Linked DNA regions of Homo sapiens: region 2 is linked to region 1. The links are contacts of gene promoters, found by promoter capture Hi-C in human tissues and cell types (Jung and others, 2019). All regions are on one chromosome and are shown on one strand. The core of a region is centred on a gene start or on the middle of the fragment in contact, and the rest is flanking DNA. Distances in the headings are between cores, read along the strand shown.

The links. The method cuts DNA at HindIII sites, captures the fragments that hold promoters and counts their contacts. A contact is called where the count stands out against the background at its distance.
Region 2: a fragment that was not itself captured here is called in contact with the fragment with the promoter of EPHA7 in region 1 in 1 of the 25 tissues and cell types used here (mesendoderm cells).

What each region holds. Positions count from the first base shown.
Region 1 is chr6:93,416,846-93,424,180 of GRCh38, forward strand. It overlaps EPHA7 (EPH receptor A7), which reads right to left and starts at 2,714. Exons shown (of 17, transcript NM_004440.4): 1 at 2,400-2,714. The coding sequence starts at 2,496. RefSeq lists a silencer at 2,762-2,961. The HindIII fragment of the contact is 11,378 bases long and covers 1-4,670 here.
Region 2 is chr6:93,368,951-93,376,618 of GRCh38, forward strand. All of the region lies in intron 3 of EPHA7 (EPH receptor A7), which reads right to left. Among named protein-coding and RNA genes, the nearest start is that of EPHA7, 47 kb to the right of the region's middle. The HindIII fragment of the contact is 5,793 bases long and covers 921-6,713 here.

The DNA.
Region 1 (7,335 bases), core at 1,464-3,963:
GGCAAAGGCTGGCGTCCCGGGGCTGGGGCGGGGCCGTCGGAGGGGCGGGGCGGGGGCTGCCAGACGGGCGCGCCAGCCGCGCCAAGCATCCATTACGCCTCTGCCAGACCTGGGCACTCCAGGGAGCCGGTGGCGCCCTCGCTCGAGAAGGAGTCGGGAAGAGGAGAGTGGCTTTCGGGAAGAGGAGAGTGGCTTTCGGGAAGCATCTCCTCTGAGGAAGAGGCGGCGGCGGCGGCGGCATTTACGGAGAGAAAAAGTAAGCAGCTGCACTTTGCCTTCAAGCGTCAGACTCTGACACGCGCTCCCTGTAGCGATGATAACTGACCAACCCGAGAGAACGTGCACAAGGAAAGTGAGGGAAGGGGGTTTCTTATCTTCCTCTAGCCACCCCCAAATGCCCCAGGAGGCCCGGCACCTGCTTCAAGCGGTTCCCAGCGCTAGCCCTTGGGTACTGCGGGCCGCCTCGGGGCTTGTGAACTCCTAGAACGCCAGCTCTTGGTCGCCGCTGCGCCCTAGAGGCGTCGCCGCCTAGAAGCCGGGCGCACTCGCCGCCCGCCAGCCACAGATCACCACCCTCCCTCCCATCACCCCCGCGCCTTTTATACATCACACTTCTGCATCTAAAGAATTCAGGCTCTTAGAATCAGAATCCTCTTCACGTAGCTTGCACCCAGAAGAGCAAAGAGAACTAGACATTCTGGCTGCAGGAACCTCTCCCCCTAGTGATGCAGTTATTTATAGCCCAAACTCCAGCCCGAGTCTGCGTGTGTTCGCGCGCGGGGTTTCGCCGCGGCGGTGCAAACTTTTCCTCTGGTCCGCTATTCCAGAGGAATCACAGTATGCCAGGGCTGAAGGTTTCTGATCGCTAACGTCAGGGGAGTAGAAATGTGGTTTTGGAGGGGATGAGCGTGCGTTTCTAGCAGATGTCCGTCCTTCTGCAAACGCGTAACCGCCAGCTTGGAGGCACGGGGTTCTCTGAATGGGTTCAGCATCTATACAGGTTGCAGATGTGGAAAGTGGGGTCAGAAGGTCAGGCTGAAAGAAGGACTAGAATTTGGCGCCGGGTTTGAGGGGGGCTTGAGCGAACTAAGAGGAGTGCACGATGAGAATAAAGAAAAGGTGCACTAAGTTTTCAGAAATAGATGAATCAAGGACCTATATGTAAGTCCCCTCAACACCCCGCCCGATAACCACCATGACCTAAATTTCATAACAGATTCCTCTCCCTCTACACATCAGGAATAAGTAATTATTTCTCTTCTGCTTTTAACAGATCGAAAAATGAAACTTAGATACACAGCCTGAAAGACCAGGGGGGCGACGGGATGAGGGGGGTTGGGGATGGGATTGTGACACTGCTCAAAAGCAAGAGACTTCCATTGACAGGGTTTATTTTTCCCCAGCTCCAACTACAGGCACCGAAAGGTATTTTACCTTCTGTCAAAGGTTCAAAGAAGGAAAACATAACCATATACAGGCGTATCTGTAACAGCTTGCCAAATAAAACCTGCCTTCTCCTACCAGAACCAACCCTCAGGGTTCAGGTCTTTGGCAAGGATTGGGCACTCGGATTCCTCAATTGCTGCACTATGGGGCAAATAATTGGGGACTTTGAGTCGCCCAGGCGGCATCCTTACAAATTGCACAGCTCCAGCCCGCCCCCTGCCTCCACGGCCCGACCAAGCCCGCTGGGCTGCCGCTGCCCCCATGACCGCTGGGCCCGACGCGCAGCGCGCGCTGAATGGAGACATCCCCGGCCCTCGGGTCGCGCGCCGCACGCCGCGCTTCACCTCCGCGGCGTTATTGTTCCGTGCTGGCGGCCGAGCGCCAACCGCAGGACCGCGCCGCCGCCTCCGACGCAGTGAGCACTTCATTAGTAACCCGAGCTTTCCGAGCTCATCGAAGTCTCGGTCCCTCTGGGAAGGCTCCGGGCTCCCGCCACTCGCCGGCGGGCTGGCGGAGACGGTAGGGGCTGCATTTCCCAGTCTCCAACCCAACTCTGGCCGCAGCTCCCACAGAAGGCGAATAAGGAGACAAGGAAGACCGAGCTAGAGAGAGATGTGACCCGCCTGAGGTACTAAGAAATAAGCTCGCCGGCAGTTCCTCCAACCCCACCCCACCCCCGTTGCTGCTCACGCCCTCCAGACTGCCCGCGCCAGAAATCCCGCACCCGTCGGATGGACGGCTCCGGGCACAGGGCTGTAGGCGGCTCGGAACAGCCCTGGTTCGCGCTCGCTGGTCCGCCAGGAGCGGCCTCAGCGGTGAGGGGGCGGGGAGCCGGCGGGGGAGGGTCGCCCGGCGCCGGAGGCGCGGCCGGCAGCGCCGCGGACGAGCTGGCTTGTGCAGGTAGACATCTAAATAAATAAGTCAGAACAAACTTTGCTTTCCCATCACCTTACCTTCCTTCGCAGCCTGCGCCTCCCCTGTGTGTGCAAAGCGGAGCAGCCAGATGTAGCATAAAATAATCCATGAAGGGTACCGAGTTTGAAAAACCATGGTGCATGAGCAGGTTTTATTTTAGGTTTCAGTTATCTTGAGTCGTGGATTTTTAAATGCTGTTTGTTCCGAAGTAGCTTTTGTTTTATTGTGCTCCTTGCATCGATTCCCCTTCTCGGTCCCCGATCGGCTGCTCCACGTTTAGCTTTTTTTAATTTCCCCCCCACTCCTGTTCGCTCGCACCGTGTTTGCTGCCTGCAAGTCTCCGACTGCAGACCGGCCGCTTGCTCCACACTCCAATAATATCAATTAGGGGGGGAGGGGGCGGGGCTCCGAGCTGAGAGCCTCCGCCACTCGGGCTGAGTGGCAGGCACAGCCGGCCTGCCAGGAGGCGATTCCCAGGGCCAAGGGGCGGGTCCCGGCGAAATGGCCGCCCCGGCCACGGGGGCGGGGTCCGAGGCAGGAGCCAATCGGTGCCGAGCGGAGTCAGGTTGCTGGTCCAGGATTCCCTCCAGGTTCTGAGCTCGCGCTGGATGTTCAGAGGAGAACGAGGATGGTAGCCGAGGTGTGTGCTGCTTTGGACGCTCTGCTTTTAGCAACCGCAGCTTTCGCGTAGCAGAATAAATCCGAGAATAACGCTCCCAACTTACACTCTTTTCTATAGCTGTACTCCGCGCGATCTTTTAGAAACCAGAGGCGAAGCAAGCCTTCTCTCAGCTACCAAGCACGGAGCCCGGACAGTGAAATGAGCTGTGCCTTTAAGTAAAGTGTGTTTTACTTTTTTGTTGTTAGAACCTCCGCGGGCTGGGTAACTTTGTTTTTTGCCTTTTTGAAAAGTTTCTACTTCTCTTTTTCTGTTACTCCAAGAGCCGTCAGTTTTAGGTACCACCCACCACAATCCCTGAAAGAATAAAGTAACCAAGTGTATTATGTTTAAACAATGTTTCCAAGAGTTTGCAACAAGCTCTGGCAAAAGAAACAGAGGAAAAGGGAGTGGGAAAGGAAGTCTTTTGTTTTAAGCGCCCCTTCTCCTCCGCCCTGTCTTTTCACCATAGTTTGTTGAGCGAAGTGAGACATTAGGAGAGAACCTTCTGATGGTTGCGTATCGTTTTTTTACGCGTTTATCATTTTCTAAGGTTTTCCTTGGATTGCCTCCACTTTGATAGTTTTCCATTTCGCTGCATAAATTACACTGAATTTTAAAGAATGCCACTACGTATTAAATTCATAAAGCAAGACCTTTCTCTTCGCAAGTATTTACCATTTTCAGGAATTATTCAATGCTTATCTTTCAAAGAGAAACTAAGAATAAAAAAAGTCATAACCAATATCTCCAGTTGAATTCATTCAACCCGAACGGCAAGGAAGGCTGCGTAGAGAAATCTGTTTTCCATTAGGCAGTTTCGGACACTTTGTATTCAAGAGGTAGGTAATAAGAGGAAGAACTTTAAAATTTTAATTGCCAAATCTTCAATTTCAAAGGTCACACAGAGTAACTTGATCACATGTTTAAGATGAATTTCTTTTTTTGTCCTATAATTTCTTCCTTTAAAAATATTTCTCAGTCATTTATGATTTCCTTTTATTTCCGATAGATCCAAAGTTTGATCTCACATAAGGCTCCAAACTTTTTCCAACCTTTCTATCTGGAAATATAAAGTAAATTGAGTTGTTTCTGCTTTTTATAGTAGGGAGTTCTCTAAGATGACAACCCCCAGATATTTATTTGTATTTTATGTTAAATTGTCTCCTGTAGTTTTTATTTGCCTAATAAAATAACATGGAAGAGAGATATGAAATTTATTCTTTAAACCTCTTTGATTCTGTAGTTTCTGAAACATTTCTTCAATGTTACATATTCCTAGCCATTATGCCTATTTAATATTTTAGAAAGTGTATCAAAAAGCATCTTCAGTGTCCCTTAAAGGATGCATAGAAAATGTAAATGCGTAATAGATTAACCTTAGAAAGAGACAAAAAAAAATATGGGGAGAACACACTTGTTATAGAGGAGATGAAGCTTTATTTACACAAATAGATGATTTAAGGATGAAACTTGTAAACTAAAACATAAGAGTTAAAAACATAAATCCCTGCACTTAGTCTTTAGAACTCACAGAACTACAAACTTACAAATATTAAACCACTTCTAATAGTTAAAACGAATTCTCCAGGATTTCAACACTTTCCCCAGGGTCTCATCCCCACTTCTTAAAATGACACCAAGGTGGCCTTTAAAGTTTAAAATATTCCTTTCATCTATTGAATGACTAATACTCAATGATGTGAATACAAATACTTTTCCATTAAAACCAGGAAACCAAAGAAGTAACATCCTTCACTCCTCTGATGAGTGTAGGTGGTATAGTGAGTCCTCTTTTTGTGTCCCTTCTCTCTGTCAGACACAGGGGCATGTGTAACTTTACTCTTATTTTTAGAGACAAGAAGCTTCACATTAAATGCACATGTGCCAGGCTGCTGACAGTTCTCCCTGCATAGCTGCACAGTGATACTGATTTTTAGGTTTTTCAAACTTCTCTTCTTTCTTTTGTAGTATCTAGATATATTGACAAAGAATTCGGAGCATTTAAATAAAAATAAATGACAGTCAAGAAGACAGTGTTCAGCATACAGTATATGATTAATATATAAATTTACACTCGACTGTATTTGACTAATGATAAAGCATATAGACCTATTTGTACATGAAGCCACTGACATAAAAATTATCAGTATACAAAACTTTCTCATTTTAAAATAACATAATGGTGAACTTCCTCACACCATTACAATTTATTTTAGCTTCATTTTATGATTTAAGCATATTATTTCTAATCAATTATTTTTAATAATGCGATGTGTTTGTATATAAAGTGAATTCAAAAGGAACTTGTCTTCCTGAGCAATACCAAATAGTGTATGAGACCAACACCTGTGCGCCAAAGCAATAATTCTGAAAACTAGTTTTACATTTTTATGCATTCATTGTACAACTAAGTTGATAGCGTCGTCCACATATATTTAGTGAATTTTAAGTAAATGGAAACAGAGACTAAGACCTTAATATTTCAATTTTATATCCCCTCTGTTGCAACATCTATAATAAATGTATAGTGGAAAGATGAAAAACGCCTCTCTTCAGATACTAAGGAGATATACCCAATTTTAATGCATTTTGTATTATTTATTTGTATAATTACCAATAATCACATGACTGTACATGTAGGGAAATGTCCAAATTCAAGACACATTCTAAATGAGGGTACACCTGCTATTTTGTTTTAACTTGTTACAATACTAATATTTACCTCACTGTTTAACTCTGGGAAATATTCTCTGATTTTAAGAGAGAAATAGGAGTAAATTATAATGACTTCAGGGAATAAGTTCTATGAATTTTCAAATGAAAGAAAAGGTTATACTGTGTGTGTCTAGTATTCAGGCCATTCGAGGGCAAAGGGACAATTGGAGATTTCAGTATGTTACAAATCCAAGACTGTCAAACTAAATAGTTAACAACAATGAAATCAAAGGGCTGTTTCTGAACCCACTACTTTTGTACTTATCATCAAAATGCATTCACAGCTGGCAAATGTGAAAATGCAAGTTCATCACAGAAAAAGGGTAATTTAAACTGAATTAGAAAAGGTACTGTGCAGAAGAAATTGATTATAAGCAGAAAAGAAGCATTATGTCTTAGTTAACAGATATTACAGAAAATTGGATTCTGTGATTTCAGTCAAAATATAAACAATCTTTCCACTGTGTAGGAAAATCATTTACATATTTACATTAACATGATTTATGTAGTGTATATAAAATATTTATTTGCAGTCTAATGTAAAAAATGTGCATAACCTAAACTCATTAAAAACATATTAATTCATGAATTTTTCTAAGCTCAGATTTAGCTGAAAGTATAGGAAGTCAGAGGTCAGAAATCAAACCATAAGTCAAGAATTTATTTTGTGCCTTTGTAAAATTTCACACACTTTTGTGAAGTCAGATAAATAAAGTTCAGAAGATTACAATTATAATTCTTTAAGTACAATTTCCAAGTTAATTTCAGACAGTTTAACAAATAAAAATATAATTTATATCTAAATTATGAGTCCACTTGAATATTATTGCTGAGGTACCACTGAAATTTTCTAATCACCTAAAATATTAAAAAGTGTTCAGTCAAATTACTCTTTTTTTAAGTAATATTAAAATAACAAAATGTAGCTAGGAAAATGTAGCACTTTATACCTGAAATCAAGTAGCACATGTTCGGTGCTCTTAGTGGATTTTTTTTTTTTCAAACTTGATTTTGCATGGGGAGGCTCTTTTCTTCCATTACTTCCAGTTCATTTTGCCATAAATCACCAGGATTGATAGGATGAACTGGCTTAAATTATTCAAATTACTTCTACATGCTTCCATGGTTTCTCATGTTGTAATTTTTAAGCTCTTCACCCAGAGGATTTTTAGGTATCAAGATCTGTGATAATTCAGCGACCACCAGGGGGCAACAGGACCTCTGGGTGTCCTGGACAATCAAGTCCACCCTGTACAAGGTAAAGATGAGTTAGTTGTGAAATTGTATGTGTGTGTATTTGTGCATGTATATATACATATATATTATGAATATATAATATTTGTCTCATTGATTACTTTTAAGTTTCTTTTTCTCTCGGTACCTATGCCAGGCTACAAAATGCCTTCATAAAAATTTGTGAGATGTCCTATGACCTATTTTAGTCCATAGAGGCCAAGTTAAATGAATAGGCTCAAAGGCACATTAGAAGGTGAATTATACTATGGAAAAGCTTGCTCCAGTTTTTGTTTTTGTTTTTTTAACTAACCCGAAGAATTTTGAGTTTCCAGAGTGACCTCAGATACTCTCTTCCTTAGTCT
Region 2 (7,668 bases), core at 2,567-5,066, 47 kb before region 1:
AGTGGAAAATTTTCTGGAGATCATAAAGAAATCAGTTTACCCTGAAGCATGACATATTAAATGGATGCGTCAGGACAATGAGTGTATTCACTCAATCCTTAATTCTTAGAAATAAAAGAAAATAACAAGCAGAATAAATGCTTAGAAAAATGTTGTTGAGCTCAATCCTTTCTTTTTTAAAAAAAAGAGCTGGCAAAGAAAAAGAAAGAAAAGAAAAGAAAAATAAAGGCCACACACACACACACACACACACACACACACACACACTTGCAAGATACATAGAATTTTTAGAAATAAACTAGTAAGAATTCTGACTGTATTTTCATACTTTCTACTCCTTCATAAGAGAAAACCAGTTAATTAATTGCTGATTTTTACCTCCACACCCAAATAAATAATTTGCCACATCTCTTTGTATCCATTATCCTACTAACTTTGCATCCATAGAATTTTGCAAAAAGACAACGTAGCCAGTAGCAGAATATCATTTAATTGTCTGTTAAAACAAACTCTGCAGAAAAAGTAGCTACATATGTAAAGAATAACCCTATATAGTTTCATTCTTTTTAAAAGAGCAACATCCATTCTTCATGAATCAGTTAAACGCTTTGCCTCCTCCATCTTTTCTGAGCTCTTAAGGCTACTTAGGAGAACAGTTTCACTCAATACAACATACCACCACTATGTCATTCACACTGCCATAATTATTTCTTTATGCATGTGTCCTCTAACTCACCGTGAAACCCTCAAGTTCAGGGATTATAATATATGTATCCATGGATTCCCAAAGCCTAGCACAATGTCCAGCACATAGCAGGAGGTTAATCTATGTTTATTGAATGGACGAATGAAGGAATCTTATCCATCCTCCAGCATTATGCATCTGGTGACACCATCCCACTTACCAAAGGTTAATTCACTGACACCACTTAGTAAATTTTTCATAGTCATCAGAGCAATAGGACTGATGTGGCACATTCTTAGTAGAGGGGAGTGCAGCCTTGGCTACAGAAGTAAGGAGAGACACTTCACTGGCTTTCAGTCTTTAAGTCTCCCTGTTATGCTGCACAGGGAGACAACTGCACAGCCATGTTTAGACTAATACTTTAGATGATTTTAACATGATTCTGTAAGCATCCTTAATACAGTAACAACAAAAAGTATACGAATGAAATTAAAAGCATTTTAGGAGCATATAATTGAATACCTTCTCTGAACACAGGGGAGAAAAGGTCCAAGAGAAGGAAAACAACTAAGCTGAGAATTATAAGTTATAACAAAACTATCATTTCAGGGTTGTTTCCAAGGCAAAAATTTAAAGAATAATAGTTTTTTCCTGCTCTGGATTATTTAAGAAACTATCTCTCTTTAAATACATGACCTACCCAAACCCAAAAAAGTAATATTCTAGTTTTAGATTACTGAGAATTGCCATACAGTAAGTACACAATACTTTCATTTCTGTTGGTAATTTGGAACTAGACAGGCCACTATTAAAATAAATTCTAATAATTAACATTTCTATTGGAAAACAGAAATATCACTGATTCTTATGAAAAATAATTTCAATTTATTTCTTACTGGCTCTCTTTTAAATATTTAAACAATTGTAGAGTAAGCAAAAACACTGATTTAAAAACAATGGGATATTACATCTTTTGTTTTCTTTTATTATGAGCATAAATACACATATATATTCACACACCCTTCTGTACATTTGGTTTCCTATTACATTTCATATGTCTCTAAGACATACTAATTCATTTGATTTATGACCTATGGAGGGGCACGACAAAACTAAAGGTGAAAACTTATTTATATGTACATATACTACTTTACATTTTTCAAGTTATAAACTAGGCAAAACTGTAAAGTACCTTAATATTCAGAGTGAACTCAGAAAAAGCACAGTCGGCAAGGCGCGGTGGCTCACGCCTGTAATCCCAGCACTTTGGGAAGCCGAGGCAGGTGGATCACGAGGTCAGGAGATCGAGACCATCCTGGCTAACATGGTGAAACCCTGTCTCTACGAAAAATACAAAAAAAAAAAAAAGAAAAAAAAACTTAGCCAGCCGTGGCGGCGGGAGCCTGTAGTCCCAGCTACTCAGGAGGCTGAGGCAGGAGAATGCTGTGAACCCAGGAGGCGGAGCTTGCAGTGAGCCCAGATCGCGCCACTGCACTCCAGCCTGGGCGACAGAGTGAGACTCTGTCTCAAAAAGAAAAAAAAAAAGAAAAAGCACAGTCAGCTCTCTGTATCCACTGGTTCTGCATCCATGGATTAACCCAACCATGGATAATAAATATTTGGGGAAAAAAATAACAAAAAATAATGCAACAATACAAAAATACAAATTTTAAAAACAACACAATATAACAACTACATGCCTAGAATTTACACTGTATTAGATATTGTAAGTAATCTAGAGATTATTTAAAGTATAGAAAAGGATGTGTATAGTTTATATGCAAATACTATATATGCCATTTTATATAAGGGACTTAAGCATCTGTGGATGCTGGTATCCAAGGGGATCCTGTAACTCACCCCCCTTGATACTGAGAGGCAACTGTAATGACAAGCGCTACAAAGTATTAGACTCAACACCTATGTGTGCATATATTTCAATCTGAAAGAATTTAGAAATTTAGAAGTGAAGTACTGTTTTCTCATAGGAAATGATGATAAAGTAAATGTATACATTTCCAAATAAAAATGCATTGAAAGTTCTTACAAAGGAAATGAAAAACTAGAATATAATGATTGATTCTACCTCTATATTAATGGTGCTATAAACGAATATGTATAGAGAGCTGATGGTACATTACATCTTCCTAATTAATTAGTATACATCATCCCAAAACCTGACTAAAGATTTGAAAATGTCAATTTATACTAACCAGAACACCAGAAATAAGGAAGGGAAAAAATCAGTTCAAAGATTGCACCCAAATGAAGTGGTTAAGAACATACAGGATAAAAGCAGATGACAGATTGTGAAGACATACTGTCACAGATGGATACCAGGTGGAATGGATCAGACAATATTTTTAGAATCAATTTTTTTTCAACATTTAAGTTAAATTACCCTTTTGGGTAAATGTTCAAAAGACTGATAAGAAAACTAGTTTTACATGCATCTAAATAAACAGAATATCTAAAAGCTAAGGGGTGAATGATTTATCTTTATATTACTTAGGAATAATCAAGCATTGTATAAGAACTTATTAAATAAACATTTGTGAGTGGATGAACACCAATGATAAAGGAGGTATCTGATGCTTGAACATTTCCTTTATGCTTTCATTTCATTTCACCATAATGAGCATACTACCTATGGCACAGCAAAACAAAGGGTAATACTTGCCAAATATCAGCAATTACAGAAAGGGGAGTTACAACCTTATAAGAGTATGACTATTCCTTTTGCCATTTTTCAACATGATTATTTTGCAGTTTAAGTTAGCAGCTGTTTAAATAAGAGGCTAGAAAGTGAATCTTCTCATGCTACAGATGTTAAAAGATAATGTCTAGACATAGAATCAATAAGGTTTTAAGGTTTTTGATTTTCCCAGACTGAAATCCTACTCTTATCATATATTAGTGTTGAATGCTATAAAATATTTCACAAAGTTAGAATTTAGAGAAAACAATTTTTAGCAAGATAAGATGCATTGCTTTTTGATTGTTATTTCCATTACATCTTTGCTTTATAAATTTTCCTTCTAAGTTATGGCCTCAAATGGCATAGGTTGTCCAAACTTTTAAATAGTTTTCTGTTTGTTGATGAAATGTGTTGAGTGACTAACTCAAAAGCATTGTGCTTGCAGCTATAACAGCCTAAGTGCTATTCAATATGGTTAAACATTCCACTTTTCACATGAAAAATATAATAGTTAAGTTTATACATTGGCTTTGCCTTAATATCTATATCATGATTTCATTAATTTTTTAGTAAATTACTTCTTCCACTACCTTTTTAAACAAAATTATACTAAAAGGAGATGGAGAATTCTGAAAATGTAGTACTTCCTTCTGAATTATGGTATATACTCTTACAATTTAGAGTGCATATGTCTTCAACAATTGTCAAAATAGTTGTCTGGATTAAAATACATACATTTTCTGTTCAAATATTTAATTGTGATACATGATTATATAACAGAAGATATATTTGTATTTTGACATATAGTCAATAATTATAGTAATATATCTTTGGAATTAACAGCTAGAAACCACTAGTTCTCTTTATATTATATTTAATTTTATTAAAATAATCACAAATTCTACTTTATTGCTTCAATATCAAAAGGGAAAAATTACAAAGTTAACAGACATCTCCAAGAGCAATAATTCTTGACCTTTTCTTAAAATCTAAATGTTCTGTGTAAAGTAATTGTTCAATAACTTGGTCATGTGAAAAAAAGACTTGAGTCAAGAACAGAAGCCCTGACTTATTAGAAATGGTGAATTCCATAAGGCAGGTCAGGGAAACTTGCGTGTAATTTAGTACTTTTACACTGCATTTCTTATATTCAATATCATTTGTGAAAATTGTATGGAATAGGTTCTCACTCTTGCCATTGACTTCTACTCATGATTCTCTGGAATCTGATATTTCATGGTTTTGCCAGTTGTTTACCATATAGGATTATCACACAGTATTATGTGAGACAGTTTAATTAGAGAGCTTAGATGATGGTATCAAGATTAGTAGTATTTTTAGCTCTCATGATTCACCAATATCTCCAAAGCTATTTCTGTAGAATGACAAAGGTTTATGCTCTATTTGTCACTCTTCTTTTTTTTTTCTGGTGTATTCTCTTTCGAATAATCACAAGCTTAACATAAGTGTGCCATTTACTAATGGATTAGTATATTGTTACATGTTTTACAAAAGGTAAAAAAAAAATCACTTCAAAGCTCATTTGACATATACTAGTACATAAAGGAATAAAGGCTTTCACAATATACCTCATGTTTCATAAATACATCAATTAATTTTCAGAGAAATAAAGCATAACACTACATAAATAAAAATGTATAACATGTCAGAAGAATTATTAAGAATGTAACAGAATATTAAATTCCTAACCAACAGAGAGCCTCAAAATAACATGAAGTCGCACTAGAGGTATTTAACCAGAGCTTTTAAAAAAAATATTCAGGTCAAATCTAGAGATAGTTCTATGAAGGAGTACACTATGTAGTGCTAACTCCCTGAAGAGAGTCATTACAGGTATATTTGCTAAATTTCTAAAACACGTCACCTCCTTAGTGAAGCCATATCTGACCTCTGGGTTAGGTAATTGAGTCCCTCATCTGTCTTCCCACTCCTCTATTTTAGCACTACAGACAAGAATAGAGATATGAATTTATATACATAGACAAATACTCTATGTTTCTATCTCTCTATCATCTATCTGTCTCATGCTGAGTACATTATACCCTCACTAAAATCTTGCAAGATCATATTTTTCTAACTAAATGTAGAAGTGTCAAATATATTACCTTTATATTTCACAGTTTAATCATTTTAAGTCTTCCTTTTAAGTGTCATGCCTTACTAGCGAACCTTTGACACTGCCAAATATGTTGTGGTTTTATGTATATTTATAGTCATTGTAATTTTATTTGCCAAAATAGAAGAAACTTGTATCTGTGAATGCATATGGATGGTTAAGAAAATAATTAAACAACAGTGGAGACTAGTCGCTCAGACTGCTGGCTATGGAGCCAAACACCTTGAGTTCAACTCCTGAGTTCAAGTGCTAGAACCATCATTAGATCACCAATAGGAAACTGCCTTGGTTTCCTCATCTGTAATACAGGAATAATAGTGACACTTTCCTAATAGGATCACTATGAGGATTAAATTAAAGAACAATGTAAGAGTGTTTGGCACACAGTAAGTAATTTACACATATCAGTTAATATTATCATCATAATTATTATAACATAGTGAAGAATATCATTTCAAAAAAGATAATATTGCTTCCTCCATAACATACAAAAATTTCTGAATAGTTTTTAACATTTTTGCAATCTGTTTAACTGCCTCATTATATAAACCATGTAACTAAATGTCTGAAAGTTTCAACTTAGAAATTCCTTTAATAATTTCAACAAGTAAGGAAACAATGTATACTGGATCCTTGAAAATAATATCATTAAAAAATATTCATTTGAAAATAAGCCTGTTTTCCTTCTGTTATTGATCTCCATAAACTTACTTTGTTTAGCATGTTATTTTGGTAGAAGTACAACTCTACCCTCCACTCTATAATGGAAGAAAGTATGCCAAACTCATGTTCCAATATGTGTAACTTGAAATGTAAAACCAAACAACAAAAACAACTTAACAAGACTGATAAAAACTCAGAGAGGCCAAGCATGGTGGCTCACACCTGTAATCCCAGCACTTTGGGAGGCCAAGGTGGGCAGATGGCTTGAGCTCAGGAGTTTGAGAAAAGCCCAGGAAACATGGTGAAACTCTCTTTCTAAAAAAAAATAAAAATAAAAAAAATAGTGAGATGGCATGTGCCTGTAGTTCCAGCTACTCGAGAGGCTGATGCAGGAGGATCACTTAGGCCTGGGACACAGAAGTTACAGTGAGCCTAGCAGAGAGACCTTGACTCAAAAAACAAACAAAAAAAAAACTCCAAGATTTGGAAGCCTGAATTAAAAAAAAAAAACAAACTCCTAATAGGCAGCTAGTATAGATAAAAAATTCACTAATCAAAAAAGTAATGAAAAAAGAATAGAGTTCTGTGAAAATATAACTTACATTTGAAGTCAGTTCATGCTTTTTCTTTGCTACCCTAAACAGTGATGTAAGTCTCTATACACAATTTGCTGTTAATCTGCTTCCCACCTAACCTAAGGAATCTGACAATTTTTCTTCTAAAGGCAACTAAGAAAAACAAAAGCTCCCATTTTCCTCATTCATGATCACAAAAGGAAAATATTTTAGAATTTCTTCCATTGTTATTTCTCCTATCCAGTGGGTCCACAGAACATTCATTATAAAAGATTTATGCCATGTGGACATGGCAGAAGATAGTCAGAAGGAGGTGGGGGTTGGTCATCTCATCATTAATGAGTCTGAAAATAATCAAGAGAGGAAGAGAGAGGGCACACTGCTATACTGTCACCAGTAATTATCAGGGGACACATTTTTTTGTGTGGGGTTTCATTTTCTTTTTCTTTTTTTGAGACAGGATCTCACTCTGTCGCCCAGGAGAAGTGCAGTGGTATGATCACTATTCACTGTAGCCTCAATTGCTGAGGCTCAAGTTCTCCCACCTCAGCCTCCTGAGCAGCTGGGACCACAGGCATGAGTCACCACACTGAGCTAATTTTTAACATTATTTTTAGAGACAAGGCCTTGCTATATTGCTCAGGCTGGTCTCAAATTCCTGGTGCCAGGCGACCCACCTGTCTTGGCCTCTCAAAGTGCTGGAATTACAGGCATAAGTCACCACGCCTGGTCCATTTTCATAAACCAATTCAGCACTGAAAGTCTGCCACCAAATAACTGACATGAATTCTTTGAGAACATAACTGATCATCATGATATATGAGAACAGAAGCAGAAGATGCTTCTTCCAACTACTGAAATACATGTAGCTGATTGTCTGGAAAATCGTGTCCTTCCCTTATAAAATAAC